Linked DNA regions of Homo sapiens: region 2 is linked to region 1. The links are contacts of gene promoters, found by promoter capture Hi-C in human tissues and cell types (Jung and others, 2019). All regions are on one chromosome and are shown on one strand. The core of a region is centred on a gene start or on the middle of the fragment in contact, and the rest is flanking DNA. Distances in the headings are between cores, read along the strand shown. Region 1 holds the start of AP4B1 (adaptor related protein complex 4 subunit beta 1). Region 2 has its middle 130 kb from the start of SYT6.

Evidence for each region. The method cuts DNA at HindIII sites, captures the fragments that hold promoters and counts their contacts. A contact is called where the count stands out against the background at its distance.
Region 2: a fragment that was not itself captured here is called in contact with the fragment with the promoter of AP4B1 in region 1 in 2 of the 25 tissues and cell types used here (mesendoderm cells and thymus).

Annotation. Positions count from the first base shown.
Region 1 is chr1:113,902,094-113,907,219 of GRCh38, reverse strand. It overlaps AP4B1 (adaptor related protein complex 4 subunit beta 1), which reads left to right and starts at 2,421. Exons shown (of 10, transcript NM_001253852.3): 1 at 2,421-2,615; 2 at 4,358-4,582. The coding sequence starts at 2,503. DCLRE1B (DNA cross-link repair 1B) reads right to left here and starts at 1,894. Exons shown (of 4, transcript NM_022836.4): 1 at 1,445-1,894; 2 at 59-224. The coding sequence starts at 1,633. RefSeq lists enhancers at 2,006-2,055, 2,086-2,645, 2,726-2,785. The HindIII fragment of the contact is 11,361 bases long and covers 1-5,126 here.
Region 2 is chr1:114,281,252-114,286,638 of GRCh38, reverse strand. No RefSeq gene overlaps it. Among named protein-coding and RNA genes, the nearest start is that of SYT6, 130 kb to the right of the region's middle. The HindIII fragment of the contact is 3,767 bases long and covers 155-3,921 here.

The sequences.
Region 1 (5,126 bases), core at 1,172-3,671:
AAAAAAAAAAAAAAACATCTAGTCTGGAGAAGTCACTGGGATTCCTTGAGAGGCCCACCTGTGTAGAGGATGGTTCCAAAATATCCTTCAAAGAGAAACATGACAGAACCAGGACAGTGATTGGCATCGAGGAGGGTTACGGTCATGGTCTCTTGTCCAATTTCATCTAGGGGTAATACATGGCTCTCACCAACCTCCAGGGCTTGGATCCATTGCTTAGATACCTGAGAAAACAGTTAGTCATCCCAGTGACCACTGACTCCTCTCCGTTACCTCCCCGGGTCAGGGACTATCCCTTACATGAATCAGGAAAGCTGACCAAATCCTGAGCCACCGGGAGCAGAAGCTGTAATGGGGATTCCCAAGCAATCTGCCCTTCCTCCTTCCACTTCCCATCCCACCCTTTGTACAATTTAAGAGTTCAGCTGGCCGGGCGTGGTGGCTCACGCCTGTAATCCCAGCACTTTGGGAGGCTGAGGCGGGTGGATCACGAGGTCAGGAGATCGAGACCATCCTGGCTAACACGGTGAAACCCCGTCTCTACTAAAAAATACAAAAAAAATTAGCCAGGCGTGGTGGCGGGCGCCTGTAGTCCCAGCTACTCGGGAGGCTGAGGCAGGAGAATGGCGTGAACCCGGGAGGCGGAGCTTGCAGTGAGCCGAGTTTGCGCCACTGCACTCCAGCCTGGGCGACAGAGCGAGACTCCATCTCAAAAAAAAAAAAAGAGTTCAGCAAACAGTCTAGTCAGCAATTCCCAAACTTACTCCTGATCTTAATCTCTTGGAGACTTAAGGGTGGGGTGGGGAGAGAGCTGGAGAACCACCCAGCACATTAGGTGGATTCTTAAGATGAGGCAAGTTTAGGCGGGGCGTGGTGGCTCACGCTTGTAATCCCAGCACTTGGGGAGGCTGAGGCGGGCGGATCACTTAAGGTCAGGAGTTAGAGAACAGCCTGGCCAACATGGTGAAACCCCGTCTCCACAAAAAATACAAAAAATTAGCTGGGCGTGGTGGCGTGCGCCTGTAATCTCAGCTACTCAGGAGGCCGAGACAGGAGAATCGCTTGAACCCGGGAGGCGGAGGCTGCAGTGAGCCGAGATTGCGCCACTGCACTCCAGCCTGGGCAACAGAGCGAGACTCCGTCTCAAAAAAAAAAAAAAAAAAAAAAAAAAAAGGCAAGTTTGGGAAACATCGGCCTAGCTTACTTATAAAGGTAGGAATAGTTTCCTTGGCTGGATTAAAATATCTCCTCAACTTATGGCTAACTATCTCAAGTTGGTCACTTCGAAAACACGTTCCTATTCTGGGTTAAAGATGCATTTTTGGGTTCAAACAACTTCCAAATCAGTTTTCGTGGCCCCCATTCTATGACTCCAAGAATGACAGGTTGAAGTCCCAACCCAGATGCCTGGACCAGCTCTCGGAGACCGACTCCAGCCCCATACCTGTAGGTGACGATGCAAGAGGTGGGCTGTAATTGGGGAGCAGTAGAGGGGCCGGGCCCAGGTGCTAGACAGGCCCACGGTGTGGTCCGAGTGCATGTGAGACAAGAAGAAGAGACGTGCGGTGCCAGCCCGGCGCAGGCTCCAGAAGTCCACTGCGATGGGCGTATGGGGGATCAGGACCCCATTCATGGTGGTAGGGTTGGAGTCACCAGTGGGATCTTCTCCACGGGGGCAGGGCTCCTGCGTGAGGCTTCCACAACGGCGTCCCGATAAAAGTCATGCTGGGGCAAGAACAGGGCCAGAGACCCTAAGGGAAAGAGCCCAGCAGAGCAATAAGTTACCAGAGTGGGCAGAAAAAGGAAGTCACCCTGCCCGCTGGAGCCCAAATCGCGGAGGGCGCTGGACACTCCCAACCGCGCGGGAGCGGAGGCCGAGCCGGGCACTCAAAGCGCGCGCTGCAGGGAGGAGACAGGCCAAAGTAGCCGATTTCCGATTGCCCGCCGCAGCTCCACCAGAGGGAGCCGCGCAGCTGCGCCTGGAGAGTGAGAGGTTGGGGGAAGGGCATCCTAAGGTCGGAGTCGGGACTACGCTTAGCGCTCGCTCGCGGGGAGACCGGCAGCGGTCTTCTGTTTGGTCTCTTGACAAGGGGGCGGGACTTCCGCAGAAAGCAAGATTGGGCCTATCCGCGATGAGAACGGCGTGGAGGGGGAATTAAGGCTGGAACTGGAGAGGGAGGGGTCTGCGGTCAGTCGGACGCGGCGCTGGAAATCCGGCGGAGGACCTAGAAGTAGCGGGAGCGATCTGTGGGCGGGGCGAACGGCCTGCCGGCCGACGGTAGGGCCTGAAGAGCCTAGGGTGGGGCTCGCGGTGTCGCGGAGGGCGTGGAAGTGTGTCAGGGCCAGCGTGCCGGCCCTACGGAAGCCGAGCCTGAGGCGAGATCTCGCCTTTTGTATTTTCACTGACTCATATTTCCTTTACTCAGGCTCCCACATCAGGACGAGAAGGAGCCCTCGAGTTACCGTGGGAGCTGTGGGAGCTGCCCTGTGACTCTTAGGAAGATGCCGTACCTTGGCTCCGAGGACGTGGTGAAGGAGCTGAAGAAGGCTCTGTGCAATCCTCACATTCAAGCTGATAGGCTGCGCTACCGGAATGTCATCCAGCGAGTGATTAGGTATCACCTACCTCCCTTCGCGTGCTAACTGCTCCCTTTGCAATCCCCATCAGGGCTCACTAGCCCCAGTCTCTCTGAAAGGGTGAATTAGCTTTCACACGTGGCAGTTATATGGTTCGGTCTTCGTCCTGCTGCTTTGGAGTACCATGTCAGTCTCCCCTCTGCAGCATCTTTTACTCAGCTGGGTAGTTTCCTCCATATCACGGGCTTGAGCAATTACTGGTGACTCTTGGATCTATAATATAGCTAGTACAGACTTCCTTTTTTAGCTTCAGACCCACGTATCCCACTGCCTGCTTGGCATTTCCACGTGCGTGGTTTATCAAAAGTATGTCCGAAATAGCCCGGACATTCTTCCGTCTTCCTCAAACCTGTTCAGCTTACATTTGTGTTGATGAATGCCACCAGCAGCCGACTATGCGTGGGAGCCAACCTTGAGGACACCTGATCTCTCACTTCTTATGTCAGATGGTTTGAATTCATAATTCTAAATATCCATCCTCTCTTGTTTATTAGCATTGTTGTTCTGGTCCAGGCCTTCATCAATAAAGCAATTGCAGCAGCTTACTAGTAGGCCACTTTGCCTCATTTGAGACAGAATTTTTCCATTATACATACCTGAACACATAACTCTTGCCTACAGCTATGGTTCACAAACTTTACTATGCATAAAAATCCCTTGGGGTGCTTTTTGTCATCCAGTCCAGGGACTGATTCTGATTTCAGTAGGGTGGGAGGGAACCCAGGAATCTGTATTTTTAATAAACATTTCAGTTGGTTCCAGTAGGAGACCAGTCTGAGAAACAATAAAGTCCAAACTTATCACAGCACCCAAGGAACAAGCTGTTAATTCAACTACCTACAGACTCTTAAAAAAATGTGTGCTGCTCCTGCTCATGTCTACTTACCTCATAGCATGTATCTTTACCTTGCTATTACATCTGCCTAGTGAGCTCCTGCTCATTCAGCTAAAGTATTACTTCCTCTGTGAAGAAACATTTTCTGACTTCCTGCCAGTGTCAGACCTCTGAATCCCCTCTACACCTTGTACAATACTTCTGTTTAAGTACTTATCTATCATACTGTAATTAACGGTATTCTCATCTGGCTCATTAATAGATTTGAAGTTCCTAGAGGTTTGAGACCACACCTTCTTCAAGATTATGTCCCAAGAGCATGTCCCTGGATGTAAAAGTTGAATTTCACCAAAGTACTAGGGATTCAATAAGTGTTTGTTGAGGCTGGGTGCGGTGGCTCACGCTGGTAATCCCAGCACTTTGGGAGGCCAAGGCGGGTGGATCACCTGCAGTCAGGAGTTCGAGACCAGCCTGGCCAACATGGAGAAACCCCGTCTCTACTAAAAATACAAAAATTAGCTGGGCGTGGTGGCACGCACCTGTAGTCCCAGCTACTCGGGAGGCTGAGGCAGGAGAATCGCTTGAACCTGGGAAGCGGAGCTTATAATGAGCCGAGATTGTGCCACTGCACTCTAGCCTGGGTAACAGAGCAAGACTCTGTCTCAAAAATAATAATAAGTGTTTGTTGAATGAATAGAAGAATAATGTTTATTGTAGGCCTATGGTATGAAGTACTGTGTGATATAATAGACAAGGTAATCCTGGCTGCTACCCTCTAAGAGATCACAATCTAGTTGGGTAATCAGGAGATATGTAAGTAAAACTCCCTCCATTGTAAGTTGGGGATTTTGCATTTTACTTCCTTCTGTCATGTGCGTTGTTCAGGTACATGACTCAAGGCTTGGACATGTCTGGTGTTTTTATGGAAATGGTGAAGGCCAGTGCCACTGTAGATATTGTCCAGAAGAAGTTGGTTTATCTGTACATGTGCACATATGCTCCCCTGAAACCAGATCTGGCTCTCCTGGCCATCAATACGCTGTGCAAAGACTGCTCAGACCCCAATCCAATGGTGCGAGGGCTGGCGTTACGGAGCATGTGTAGCCTCAGGTGAGTACCCTCTTCTCTGTCTGGTCCTAAATGGCTGATGAATTCAAGTGATCACAGGGTAGGTTTTTAAAGAGGATAATTTATTTGAGCTCCTTAATACTGGGGAAAACATTATTGTACCCTGAACTCAGATTTTCAGCCACTGCTTTGGCTTAATAACCTGTATCATATAATTTTATTAGAGGGAGTTTTTGATTCTCACTCTAAGTAAAATAGTCCTCAGTTTTGGTTAAATATCTCTAAACAATTATGTGTATATCTTTTTTTGCTGCCTGTGCATCATTATTCCAAATGAAAAGTCAAATTAGGCTGGGCACAGTGGCTCATGCCTGTAGACCCAGCACTTTGGGAGGCTTAGACAGGAAGATTGCTTGAGCCCAGGAATTTGAGACCAGCTGGGCAAGATGGTGAGAGCCTATATCTACAAAAAATTAAATGGGCATGGTGACACGCACCTGTAGTCTCAGCTACTAGGAAGGCTGAGGCAGGAGGATGGCTTGGGCCCGGGAATTCAAGGCAGCAGTGAGCTATGATCGGGCCACTG
Region 2 (5,387 bases), core at 789-3,288, 380 kb before region 1:
TGTAGTTTTATAAAATCTTTTCTTCATGTTGTGAAATTTAACTTATAAAGTTTCCTGTCGCCCATATGTATTATTTTTGTTTGTGTCTTTTCTTAATCTGACAATGATTTTTCTTTTGGTGGAAGAAAATCTGCATAGCTACTCCACATGTAACAGTGTTGCTTGGTGAGTCATGGTCGCAGAAAGTTTAAGAAATGTTCCTTTAGAGCATGTGAATAAATCTTGCCTCAATCAAATTCTTTTTCCTGCAGCCTCCCCTGCTGGGCTCCCTTCCTTGGCCTCTGAGCCTGCTGCTTGCCTTGACCCCAAGTTCAGAGGCTCCCAATGACCTGGCCCTTTGCTGTCTTTGTAAGGCCAAACCTAGGGATGAGCCTCTTCCTCACAGGTTAGGGGCTTTCACCACCACCTCTGGGTCTCAGAAGGTGAGGAGTGAGAACAGACCTCTGAGAATGGGCACCCCTGGGACCTTGTGAACAGGTGCTGCTTAGTTCCTAGAGGAATTCAGAGGGAGAACTGCATGGCTGGCTACCAGCTCCTTGCCTCAAGATGCATCTTTCCAGGGTGGTGGGTAGTTCAGTGGCGAGTCGCTCAAACCGGGCTCTGCTGTTTGGACACGTTACTTAGCTTCATTGTATGTCCGTTTTCTCATTTGTAAAATGAGGATAATAATAATGCCCACTTCTTGGACTTCTTGAAAATGAAATGAGAATCCTATAGTCTAATGCACTTGGCCTGATACATAGTAAGTTGTCAAAAAATGTGAGCTACTGTTATTATCAAGCATTATTTACTTATATTCAGTCCCCAGCTGAATAATGGGAGAGAACTTCATGGCTAATGTAAAATTGGACTTTGACCACACCTACTTAGAGGGTTGGCACTTCTCCCTCCAGAAAATAACGGGACCTCATACAATTTATTCTAAGTAGAACAACTTAAATATAGTTTATAGAAATGGGATTTGGGAGCAGACAGATTTGGACTCGAACACCAGCTCTGTCACATGTTGCCGTGATCTTGGGCAAGTCACTTAGCTGTTGTGGGCCTCATCTGTGCAGTGGGTATTTGCACAGTAATACCGAGTTGTGAGAACATGATGTAAGCACAGGATTCAGGAGAGTGCCTGGCACTTAGTGGGATCTCAATATCTTGTCCCTCTCCCCTTTTCTTAATAGCCATAATAGACATTGATAGAAGAATTAACATTTGCTTAATGCCTACTGTGTGCCATGCACTAGTTAGGATTTTATAATCTTACATAATCTCCTGTATTCATTAAAATGATGTAAAGTATATATCAATAACACAATTTTGTGGATGAAAGAACTAAGTTCAGAAAATTTAAGACCTTTTTCAAAGTCAATAACTTGACTGCAAAAGTCCATGCTATTCCTCCTTCCCACTGGCTGCACCATCTCAGATCTCTGGACCAGCAAACACTATACACTATTCTCCTCTAAAGGAGAATACCTAGTTTCACCTCTAGTTCCAAATGTTGGTAATTAAACCAGAACCAGCATGAAGGAGTTGTTGTTTGGAACTTTTACCATAAGCCTGCAAGACACTTAATGTTACCAGCACAGCCCCTGGTAAGGGGAATATGGTTTGTTTCCCTCCAACCCCTAATTACTGTGACTTCCAAGACATACTCATCCTTGCCAAAGCTTCTCTCTAACTCTCCTCTTATCAACACAGTGATGGGCCTCTCTAGTTGATCCCTTAGGGGTGGAAGATAGGGGCACAGAACCTTGCTGTCAGGACTTTAGACAATGGTTCACAGGCTATCACTGATGAAAGTTTAGTTGGCAATCCAGGGCAGTCTTCATCAAGAAGAAAGATGGAAAGGTAGCCCTCTGTAATAACCACTAGCTGTTAAATTTGACCACCATCTGAAATTGATAATCCCAGACTAGCTGGATCAGTTATGGTCAACTAAAATTTATGTCACAGAGGAGCCCCTGGGAATGGTGCAGGGCAGCAGGTGTGGGAAGGTGATGAGCACAGGACCACATCGGAACCCAGGCAGGTCGTTCCACACTCCCAGCATGGTTGCAAGACAGAAGCCCCAGACAATGTCTTTTCAAAAATAAAGATACCTTTATTTTCTTCTGATTTTAAAATAATGCATGCATATCATTATTATTTTAAAAAATCAGACAATATGAAAAGGCTTAAAGAAGGAAATGAAAATTCCACTCTTAATTCTGCCACCTGGTGATAACATTCTGTGTAAATCCCTCCAGACTTTTTTCTGTTCTAGCCCCCCACAATTGTTCTGAAAAAAAGCAACCTTTCCAAAAGCATATAGATTGATGTTGCTATATTTAATGGAATTATGATATTCCATTATACAGATGTGCCATTCCATTATAGAGATTCCATTATAGAGGTGTAATATTAAATATAGCCATTCTTTTCTTTTAAATTGTTTCCAATTTGTCATTATTATAAACAAAGCTGTAACAAACACCCGGTACATTTTTGGTATTTCATCCTGTGGTTAATCCTGACACTGAAATTCCACAAGATTTCAGGAATCTCAATATCACTTATGTATAAATACTTAAGAAATTATGGCTGAAATATTCATTTATTCACTCATTCACTCAATATATGTACACGTGTATATATATATGTGTGTGTATGTATATATACGTGTATATATATACGCGTGTGTGTGTGTGTGTGTATATATATACGTGTGTGTGTATATATATATATACACACACACACATATTGGGTGACCATGATGTTCCAGACACAAACCTATGTTCTGTGGATATGCAGTGAATAAAACAGGCAAACTCTCTGCTCAGAACACTCACATTTAAAGAGGGGAGACAAATGATGAAATAAATGACAGTGTGTTAGAAGGTTGCAAATGTTAAGGAGAAAAATGAGGCAGAAAAGTGTGGTTTTCTCTTATAGTCATTCAGTATTTGTTCCCTGTTCTCTGTCATCATCATGCTATTTAGTTTTTCACTAAATGCCTGTTAAGTCCCTATGCTGTGCCATAAACTGTGCTAAGTATTGGGAATGGGGTGGAGAGTTGTGTGGAATATGCGCCCTAGCATGGACAAGCCCACATGTCATCATTTTCTTGCTCGTGACTTCACCATTTCATATGTGTATATTTTGTCTTCACAACTACATTAAAAGGTCTTAGCGGGTAGGAATCCGTCCATATTCTTTGTGTTCTCCTGAGCTTTTAGTGTAATGTTTTTGTACAGAGTTAGTGTTCAATAAATGCTTGTTCCATACTTGTGACATAGAAATAATGCAAGTGGTTTTGAGAGATGGAAAACTGGGTTCTGATAAGCCAAGAAATGGGTAAAAAAAAAAAAAAAAAGCACTGATTAATACCCAAGGTTAATGAGAAAGCTAGCTATTTAGCTCATAGAATTGGCATTTAAAAAAACTCGTTCTAAATCATGTGCCATCTAATCAAATATAGTGATATAAGTATAGTAAATATAGTAATTTTAGCAAATGTTGTGCAAATCTGGCTGAATAAGTAATACTATTTTTTTAATAGAAAAACACAAACCAAGCAGAGAAGCATGCTGGGTTTTAAGCCGGCTCTGTGTGGCTCATTTACGCTGTACCCACATCCTACTAACACACACCCAACTCTGCCTGCAGGGGGAGCTCCAGCACTCATTTGAGTCCCAAGGCCTTAGTTGCAAGGGACTGTCAACCCTCCCAGCAGTACTCGGTTTTGAACTCTCTCCCATCGTCCTGGCTAGCAACCAGCTGTTTGATCTGCCATTAAAAACAACAATAACAACAACAACAACAACAACAACAAATTTTTGCTATCCAAATGTAGGTAACTCTAAAAGTATGAAGTAGTTCAGAGTTACGACTTCGGCTTTAGAGCTATCATGATTGAATACCTAATATTTGTCAGGGATTGTGTCCTGCATGTTACATATATTATTTCTAACTCTCAAAACAAACTTGCAAGAGGGGTCCTATTATCCTCACTATTACCCTATGCAGACAAGGACTCTGCAGCTGAGAGAAGTTAAGGAACTTGCCTGAGGTCACAGTGTCAGTGGTGGAGGCAGGTCTGCCTAAATTAGGGCCTAAGCACTTCTACCTTGCACTCTGCTCTCTGTAGCTGCCCTTATTTACCTGTTTATTACTTGTTACTATCATCATTATCATCAGATTATTGTTACAGTTGATGTCTTTCTGGCAGAGGCAGTGCAGTTTTTTTTGTGTGTGTGACCTGGGCACACTTTGTTTTTTGACATGGTGCCTTGCTCTGTTGTCAAGGCTGGAGTGCAGTGGTGGGATCACAGCTCACTGCAGCCTTCACCTCCCCAGGCTCAGGTGATCCTCCAACTCCCTGGGCTCATGTGATCCTCCCACTTCAGCCTCCTGAGTAGCTGGGACTACAGGCGCATGCCACCACACCTGGCTAATTTTTTGTAGAGATGGGGTTTTGCCATGTTGCCCAGGCTGGTCTCAAACTCCTGGGCTCAGGCTATTCTTGCAACCCCCGAGATGTGGTTTGGCTGTGTCCCCACCCAAATCTCACCTTGAATTGTAGCTTCCATAATCCCCACGTGTTGTGGGAGATAATTGAATCATGGGGGCGGTTTCCCCCATACTGTTCTCGTGGTAGTGAATAAGTCTCACAAGAGCTGATGGTTTTATAAGGGGTTTCCCCTTTTGCTTGGCTCTCATTTTCTCTTTCCTGCTGCCATATAAGATGTGCCTTTCACCTTCTGCCATGACTGTGAGGCCTCCCTAGCCACGTGGATCTGTGAGTCCATTAAACCTCTTTTTCTTTATAAATTACCCAGTCTCGGGTATGTCTTTATCAGCAGCGCGAGAACAGACTAAAACACCCTCCTTGGCCTCCCAAAATGCTGGGATTATAGGTGTGAACCACCGCACCTGGCCTGTTTTTTAATTTTAAGACTAGTTTTTTAAAGAGTAGTTTTAGGTTCACAGCAAGACTGAGAGGAAGGCTCAGAAATATCCCATACCTTCTTCCCCGAAACATGCACAGCCTCCCCCATTATCAACATCCCCCACCAGAGTACACCCTATACAGAGTACACCAGAGTACACTGTCATATCGTTATCACCTAGTGTTCATAGTTTACATTAGAGTTTACTCTTGGTGTTGTACATTCTATGGGTTTGGACAAATGCATAATGACATGTATCCACCATTATAATATCGTAGAGAATAGTTTCGCAGCCCTAAAAATTATCTGTGCTCCACCTATTCATCCCTCCCTCCCTGTAACCCCTAGCAACCACTTTTTTTTAACTGTTTCCATAGTTTTGTCTTTTCCAGACTGTTATATAGTTGGAAATGTACAGTATGTGTAGTCTTTTCAGATTGACTTCTTTCACTTAGTCATATA